Regions from separate parts of the Homo sapiens genome. Here region 1 is linked to region 2. Evidence: promoter capture Hi-C in 16 types of primary human blood cells and fetal thymus (Javierre and others, 2016). All regions are on one chromosome and are shown on one strand. The core of a region is centred on a gene start or on the middle of the fragment in contact, and the rest is flanking DNA. Distances in the headings are between cores, read along the strand shown. Region 1 holds the start of MMADHC (metabolism of cobalamin associated D). Region 2 holds the start of KYNU (kynureninase).

The links. Contacts are between HindIII fragments. The CHiCAGO score rates a contact against its expected background, and 5 or more counts as called.
Region 1: the fragment with the promoter of MMADHC here is called in contact with the fragment with the promoter of KYNU in region 2 in 1 of 17 cell types (total B cells); the score reaches 5.9 in total B cells.

Annotation. Positions count from the first base shown.
Region 1 is chr2:149,585,825-149,590,223 of GRCh38, forward strand. MMADHC (metabolism of cobalamin associated D) reads right to left here and starts at 1,951. Exons shown (of 8, transcript NM_015702.3): 1 at 1,840-1,951; 2 at 1,265-1,325. The coding sequence starts at 1,273. MMADHC-DT (MMADHC divergent transcript) reads left to right here and starts at 1,534. Exons shown (of 3, transcript NR_110240.1): 1 at 1,534-2,026. RefSeq lists enhancers at 1,162-2,361, 1,678-1,997. The HindIII fragment of the contact is 5,011 bases long and covers 1,670-4,399 here.
Region 2 is chr2:142,875,844-142,880,139 of GRCh38, forward strand. It overlaps KYNU (kynureninase), which reads left to right and starts at 1,821. Exons shown (of 14, transcript NM_003937.3): 1 at 1,821-1,893. The HindIII fragment of the contact is 4,288 bases long and covers 1-1,896 here.

The DNA.
Region 1 (4,399 bases), core at 701-3,200, 6.7 Mb after region 2:
ACTGAAACTTAAATTTATTTTAATATGAACTTCTTTCTAACAAAAGACTTATAAAAGGATCTTCCCTACTGAACTATTATAATTTATTCATTTAAACCAAAATAAAACCAGGTCAAATAATAGCATTCTATTCTACTTCAATTAATTTCTCTCCTTTGAAAGTACCACATACTTCTTTTACAGCATTCTCTTTCTGTGCAGGTTATGGGCAGGCAAAAATTCACCATAGAACTTGGCCAAGACTAGTAATCTATTCTTATGACTTGTCTCTATAGTCACACTTTAGACTTAATATACCATGTTCAATTACAGAAATAGCATCCTGGCTAAATGCTGCCATATAAATCTTCCTAGCACACAGCTCTAAGTGAATAATCACAATTTAAAGAATGAAGTCTAAATTACTGAGTTCGGCATTCAAGGCTCTCATTTACTTGGTACCAACCTCACAATTCAACCTTATCTCCCACTTATCTCTTTCATGCAGCTTACATTCAGGTTGGCAGGCAGCAGTCACTTTTCAGTTTTTCAAAGGGGTAGGCGGGTTGGGGAGTTCTTTGAATATACCTTCCTGTCCTTCCCGCTCATATTTTAGACTATACAAATCCCACCTATCTTTCAAACCTCAAGTTAAATGTTTCCCTCATGAAGTGATCCCAAACTCCTCTCCACAAAGACTTGAATCTGCATTGCACCTTCGTGTAGGTTCTAAAAAAAATTATTACTTTATACTTTAATTGTAGCTGTTTTTATATATGTCTTATGACCGCTACATATGAATTCTATAGATAGGATGTGTCTAATCACTGCAAAGTTACAGTCAATAAATATCTCTGGTGTGTGAGAGTATCTCCTATTCTTATTTTGTAGGATTTAGAAGGTCACTTCCAATATGGAAACTGTTTTAAAAAAAAGAAAAAAAGATTAAAAAAACCCTTCAGTTTAGCTAACCCAAAAGCTAAAAAAGGGCCTAAACATAGATTCTAATATTTACTGAAACGCTGTATTTAAAAAATACCGAAAGGGTGCTTGAATTTCCACATCTGTACAAATGAAATTGTATAAATAAGTGTATTTGCAGTGCAAAGAATGCTACCATCTTCAAAGCATAACATAATTTCACACCACTTGCTTCCCTTGACATTTTTGATACATTATATCTAACACTATACCACCCAATGCCATCATAATTAAACCCGTTCTTTCATTCCTAACATTCCCAAACGAGTTTACTATGCTGATTCTTAAGAGATAATTTACTCACATTGGCCATCTCCGCTGGAGAAGATAGTTCGCAAAATAGCTTTCCTTTGGTAAAGTTATTTCTGGGAAAGAACACAACAAAACAGACGAGTGATCGATTAAACTCTAACAACAGACAACTGAGGTAACGTCCACTCTTCGAAGGTGTGTCGTCCACCACGTCAGGACCAAAGTCCAAGCTCTCCCCGTACCCTAAGGAGGCCAGAACTCGCCCCCATGCCAGGCACAGATCCCCCAGCCCGGAGCCGGCAGTGCAGCTCAGAGCCCTTCCGGTTTACAGCCGCGGAAAAACAACTCGGACCAGATCCGGGAGGGGAATGGGGGCTGGGTGGCCAAAATTCAGTCCAGAGGATCGAAGCGGCTGCTTTAACAGAAGTTGGGGCTGCGTAACAACAGCTCCAAGCAAAGCTTCAGGCTGATCGGAAAGATGAGGAAGCAGAAAAGAGACTAAAGACAGACGGACAGGATGGCTGGGGACAACGACAGGGACCCAGTGAAAATACGGGCAATACCGAGGGCTGTAACCCTAACACGGGCAAATTTGGAGGGGCTAACATGGGCGGAAACCATCCGTACCAGTCACCACCACTGTCTCCAGCTGTCCCAGAACCGGACTCTTCCTGCCATCAAAATGGCGGCGGCGACGGCAGCGGTGGTAGCACCTACGCTGGCGGTGAGCAGGCAAAGGAAGTTGCTTCCGAGCGCGTCGAAACGATGATGCGCACGCGCAAAGTAGGCCTACGTGGAGCCGACCTGCCATTGGGTAAACGCAAGGGAGGAGAAAAGGTGGGGCAGGGGTGATTTGGGTGGATGGATAGGAGGGCTTCCGACCTGCGTTAGGCGGGTCAGTTAATCTTCAGTAACTCCTTGATGCGTTTGATAGTCCTCCCAACTTAAGCCTTCCTTACTGCCTCCAGGAGATACAGTCTTCTGTTCTTTTTGTCATAGTTGTTTATTTTTCATGAATCGCTGTTTTTGAGCATAGGGCACTTACCTCTTTCTGTGTCCCCAGCCCTACCACAGTGCCAGGCTCTCAATATGCTCGATAAATATTAGGCGATTGATTTGTAAATCGTGTATCATTTTCATGTATCTAATACTTTTTTAAAAATTGATTAAAGCCCATAAGCCCATATTTTATTCCAGATGTCCTTAGTTTTCGACCTGGTATTCTTTTCCATTCCAGGATCCTGTCCGGAGTACATCACCATGTCTTCCAGGCTCCTCTGGACCGTGACCGTTTCTCAAACTTTCCTTGTTTTTGATAACCTTAATAGTTTTGAAGCGACTTATTGGTCATTTGGTCAAATGTCCTTCAATTGGGTTTTGCCTGTATTTTTCTCATGCATTAACTGAGGTTATGGGTTTTTCTTGAGTTAAGAGGTAAGGTAAAGTGATCTTCTCATCACATCACATCAAGGGTATATACTATCAACATGACTTATTACTGTTGATGCTAACCTTTATCACCATTATTACAGTGTCATACAGAAAAGTTTTATAGTTCTACAAAGATCCCCTTTGTTTCATCTAGTAAGCCCTTCCACCTCCCTATGTAGGGTTTGTCAGGTTTCTCCACTGTGAAGTTACTGTTTTTCTTTTCCTCTCCATACTATACTATTTGGAAGGACATCTCTCTGTGCAGCCCAAACTATAGGAATGGGAAATTGTTATACTCCACCTTTATGAGGACAGAATATCTTCATGAATTATTTGGAATTCTTCTGCATGGGAGATTTGTCTGTACTGCATTTATTTATGTATTCAATCATTTATGTCAGTATGGACTCATGGATATTTATTTTACATTTTGGGTTATAATCCAATACTACTTTATTTTGTTGTTCATATTGGTTCCAGCTTTGGCTATTGAGATTTCCTTTAGTTGGCATTTGTGTCTTTTTGACAAACCCTCCTCGTTTTATGTTTATTGATTTTTTTTCTTGAGCATTTTCTTAATTTCTATAAGTTGCTCCAGGCTCATCTTGTATATTCCCTGCCCCAATCCTAGAATCAGCTGCTTCCCCAAAAAGCCAAGGGTACTTTTAATGGAAAATGATATTAGAAATCAAGATTTGGACATTTGGGATGTTGTTGCTTCTAGACACTCTCAGCTGACAGAGCAAGGAAATATTTGTGGATATGCTAACCTGACTAAATACGCATATCTGTAAGTATTTATATATGTATCCATCTGTATCTTTGACAGCTACACAGGCGTTCTAGGTTCAAATACTAGAGCTGTTATCTTCAGTTCAATTCCAGCACCATATGGATCATTGCAGCCTTCTCCCCTTGCTTGTCTGTAGCCTTCCACTCCAGTGTGAGACACCTGGCTCTCATCATCTGCCATCCATTTACCTAATTGTTCAATTCCAGGTTACGTGTATAATGGATTCAGAACCGTCAACCCGTATTCAGAGTACATGTATAGTTGTTTCTGAACTGTTATCAGGTATACCTGTGAGAAACAGATTTACCAATTAGAGTACAATGCTTATGTATAGTTCTTTTGCTTTTAATCTTATAGATTCCACTTATTTTCAAAGTTACTGAAGTCAGCAGCCCTCCCTCCTACCTCTACCCGGCCTCAGTGAAGTTATTTTATATGCTCGTAATACAGTTGTAATCTTTTGCCACAATCTGCATTACTCCTGGGATTCTTTGAGTTCCTAAGATTTTTTAAAAAATCTTCCTCCGTTTAGGTTCTGTTTGTGCAATCCTCATAATGCACATTTATTTTTTTCTTTTCCTGTACATAATAGCAGACAGCTGGTCAGTAGTGGGATAGAAGTAAAAATTTTTTTAACTTCAAATTTTCTTTCTATGGGGTTTGACAAATCCATACATAGTGTCATGGATCCACCATTATTAGAGTGTCATACAGAAAAGTTGTAGTTCTAAAAAGATCCCCTTTGTTTCATCTAGTATTAAACCCTCCCACCTTCCTATACCTCTAGCAACCACTGATGTGTTTACCATCTCTATAATTTTGACTTTTCCAGAATGACATAGAAATGGAATAATACAGCATGTAGCATTTTCAGACTCATTTTCTTCACATAGTAATAGCTGCATTTAAGATTCATCCATGTTTTTGTGTGGCATAACAGTTCATTCCTGTCTTTTTATGGAT
Region 2 (4,296 bases), core at 571-3,070:
CCACAAAAGAGAGGGATAACACCAGGTGATGGTTGATGTCATTGGTGTAATCTTTTGAAATGACTGGTTTCTTTTTAGCCATAGGGCAGAAAGCCTAATCATAGTTAGTGATGGAGCGGGTATGTGTTCCACTTCCTATCCTGTCATGGCCAAAAACTTAGTTTTCAAGTTTACTCTGGGATCCCCTTGGCCAAGAGCGTGTCCGTTCAGTTAATCTAGGGGCTTGGGATTTTATTTTTATTCCTCAAATGTAACAAATTTAAAGAAAGAAAGAAATTTATAAAACATAAGAAATAGAAGTATAGCTTAGACCTCCAAGCAAGTTCTTTAAAGGTGACAAGTTAAACAGTAGTTTTTAAGATAATATTTTGATGAAATTTTTAATCATATTATTACAAGATTTTAGAAGAAGCAAGATCTTGTGAAAACAAAACCTTAATGTCCATATCTAGCTCTCTAAATCTATAGTCAGTCTTTAAAAGAGTGACACAAAAATGACACAGATCCGCCCTCTGGTTCGCTCCCCATATATTAGAGCCTGGTAATCTTCCAAAGTTTTTACAGCATGAGGCATACACAGAATAGATGCAAAAAAAGTACACCTTCTGAAATTTCCTGAATGGATTCAAACTTTTACTATTCTAAGTTAATCAATTGGTAGTCTACTTACTTTATAGGATTATTGTAAGGATAGGATCAATGAAGTGAAATATATTTTATTTTCACTGGTCAATTACTCGTATTAAAGCAATTTCATGCACTTTATCTCCCTCTCTTGGAAACTGGAGAGTAGTACTTTTTGTCTGGTTACTTAAGATTAAAAAAAAGACAATATGTCACTTTTGACTTGAGTGTCATGGTATCTATGGCCTTCAACCTGCATGGTTTTATCGTTTCAGTAATCTTGGGAGGAAGGTATTATTAAGTTCATTTGATAAATAGGAGACTGAGCCTCCACAAGGGTTAAGTGAATTGCTCAGGGTTATACAATGAACACTTGATAGAAATGATTAAATGACACTTTACTTGATTTGTTGTGGGTTACTAAATAAAGCATAGGTGTGCATAAGTCATTCAATTATTCAAGCACATTCTTCATCCCTAGTCCTAATATCGAAAGTCTTTGCTCTTAGTTTTTATAACTACAAGGATATTCATCAAAAGACCCAAGCTCAGGAATAAGCCTAAAGAGGTAGTCAGACTAGAACAAAAGACAATTCACAGACTTAAATGAATAATTTGCATTAATGAAGTTTGCCAGGCTAGTTTCCACTTGAATCTTCAGATCTTTCTTCCTTCATTGTCTTGTTAACTGTCCAGATTTATTACCTAGGAGTTTTTGAAAACTCACATATTAGGCAATAGAGTGTATTCTGGAATTGAGAGCCTATTTTAAACTTTTGACTAAAAAGTTTACCCATTAAATGTCATAGATTCAACCATCAGACTGAAAATCCTCAGTGTATTTGAAGGAGGGTATTGTCTCAAAAATCCAGAGCTCAAAGTGAAGAAGAAAGGCAAAATTTGGAATTTAGCTCTAAGACCAACTCATCAGTTCAGGGGTCAGAGATTTATATAGTTAAAGGACAAGTGTGTGTTTACCTGAGTTTAAAGAGCAAAGTTGCCTCTGGAAAGAAGCCCTCACTGGAGGCTCTGGCATTTGAAATGGTGGGCAGGAGCACATGTTGCTTAAATTTCTGACAGTGGCTGGAGATTACCGATTGGTTAGGGGAGAGGAAGTAAAGTAAAATATTTATAAATTCTCCACTGGGTGGAGTCTGAGCAGTTCTTTGAATTTCTCACCCTAAGATCTGGCCTGTACATTTTCAAGGAATTCTTGAGAGGTTCTTGGAGAGATTCTGGGAGCCAAACACTCCATTGGGATCCTAGCTGGTAAGCTTGAGGCGCTGATAAAAACTCTCTACCCTAATGTTTACTCCATGTTTTTTCCAAATGAAACTTCTGTCAGCTAGAATCCTTGTCATAGTGTTTTAGAGGTTTTTTTCTGCTACTCTCTTCTTTTTTTATATATATTCTTTTTGTAAATAAAAATGGTATGACCTTCCTAAAGGCCCCACCTTTAGAAATGGGTTAAATGAAAAGATCTTTACTAATGTAATAGAAAAGAACTGATGAACATAGTGCACTGAATATGGTTACATTTGACAAACCAAAGTTAGTCCTGTTCTTATTTGAGTTTAAGCGGTAAGATTAGGTCAAACTCCAGACGAGGGAAAGATATTCTTAAACAGATTTTAAGTCCTCTGTTTTCTGGTAACTTTAATTGTCTTATGCTGCTAGTAGTCATATTAAATATTTATTTAGAGAAGTGAAAATGCCTACTCTTGAACAGAGTTTCTTCCCCTTTCATTTTATGAAACCTAAGAAAAGAAAGTTGATACACTTTTTAAAAATATACTAGATTTTCTTTTTTCCTTTCTGCTTTTATTTTGAGGCCAGTGGGGTGTTATTTAGTAGTAACACTGAAGCAAATGTATTGATTTTCTTAACGTGTTCAGCAAGTAATTCATATCCTAGATATGAAATATACACTCGTAGCAGAGTAATGTTACCCATTTCTCAATGATATGCTTAAAGAATCTTGCTCAATATGCATATTGTTTTTCCTTTTTTCTTTACTAATGAAAAACTACACGCTTTCTCAACATATTTTTAAGTCAGGTTCTAAACTTTGAACTCCTATGTACAATTTGCTTATTTCAGGCATGAATGTGAAACTGTGTAAAGATTAACTACCAGACACTCAGTCATTTATTTAACTATTTAGCCCTAAATCAGTGGGTGACTAGGAGATTCTGAATTCTGTGATTTCGTTAAAATCAATCAGTTTTTAATTATTATACAAGCTTTTTACTTTAAAGTTGTAGCTGTCTAAATAAAATTGTGAAAGCACAATTTCCAAACCTAAATCGAAGGCACATTGATGCTGTCCATCAGAAGGTATTGATAATTTAAAAAAATATTACAAACTATCTTTTATCTTTTTATAAAGGACCTAATGTCATTTGAGCTTAACCATAATCCTTTGAAGAAAGTAAAATTTAACTTTAAATAACATTGACATACAGAGCAGTTAGGTGATTTGTCTGAGACCATATGGTATGTATGTCCCCCGTCTTGATAAAATTAACACTAAATATGTAACATTTGAAAATTTGTAAAATATGTAAAAGTTGAAGTTTTTAAAAGTTTGGATTTAAGTTCTTCCTTTCAGAATATGAGCATGTCACTTTATTTGCAAACTAAACATGGCATAACATTATGGCTTGTGAACACTAATTGTCTTAGCTGCTGGGGTGAATGCAGAATTAAGCAGCAATTAGTATGAGTGAATAAATTGCATCCTTAGAGTGAGTGCACTATGCTATTCTGGGAACTAAAGACTATATTTGAGACCATGCGAAGTTGTGCAAGTGGTGGAGTAGGGCAGGGTGCAGTCATTTGGAAGACTATGCCCATCAGGTATCTCAAGGTACCCCAGATGTGACAGGCCCAGGAGCGGAACCAGCCACTTTAACTTTTGCCTGGCTGAAACTGGACTGGGAAGGATGGATTAAAAAGGTAAATCAATTCATACGTAGCTTGTGGTCCTTTGCAGCTTAAGTGTAGGACTGAAAAAAGAAGCCAAAGAAAAAGGGAATGAGCTGAAGAAATACACACACGTACACACACACATCAGGAAGCAACAGGCAAGGAAAAATAAAGTGAGAGGTTCAAGGCTTCGAGGAGGAATTGAGCTCTGTGCATTCCATTCATGGGCTTTGCCAAAGACCAGCACAATGGACTCAGCATCTCAGGCATGGTTAAGTACCCTACTGTGCACTCTGCTATCCTTTTAGTCCACTGGTTTCTACTCTGTCTGTGCCAGGTTTTCATCTCAATATAGAGGAAAAGGATTCTGATGCCTCAGGATTATTACAAGCATTAAATAAGATACAGATAGAATGACGCTAATGAGTATCATTTTTAAAATAAGGAAAGTTGAATTTTATTCAGAATCTGTTGGTAACAAACTAATCTCTTTATTTAAGTAACCCCACTTAGAGTTTAAAGTCACCTCCAATCAACTCAAAGGGCTGACCTCCCAAAGAAAGTCTCAAATATAAGGCAAGCTCTCTTGATTCTGAATTTCATTAGAAATGTTTGTCTAAGTCTTTCTCATATGGTCAGAATGAGAGAGGGTGCCCTTCTAGTAATATGTCATTATGTCAAATAATTCATCAACCAATTTTGTTTATTCTCTCGAACTGCCACTTTGGCGGCAGGGGTACTCTG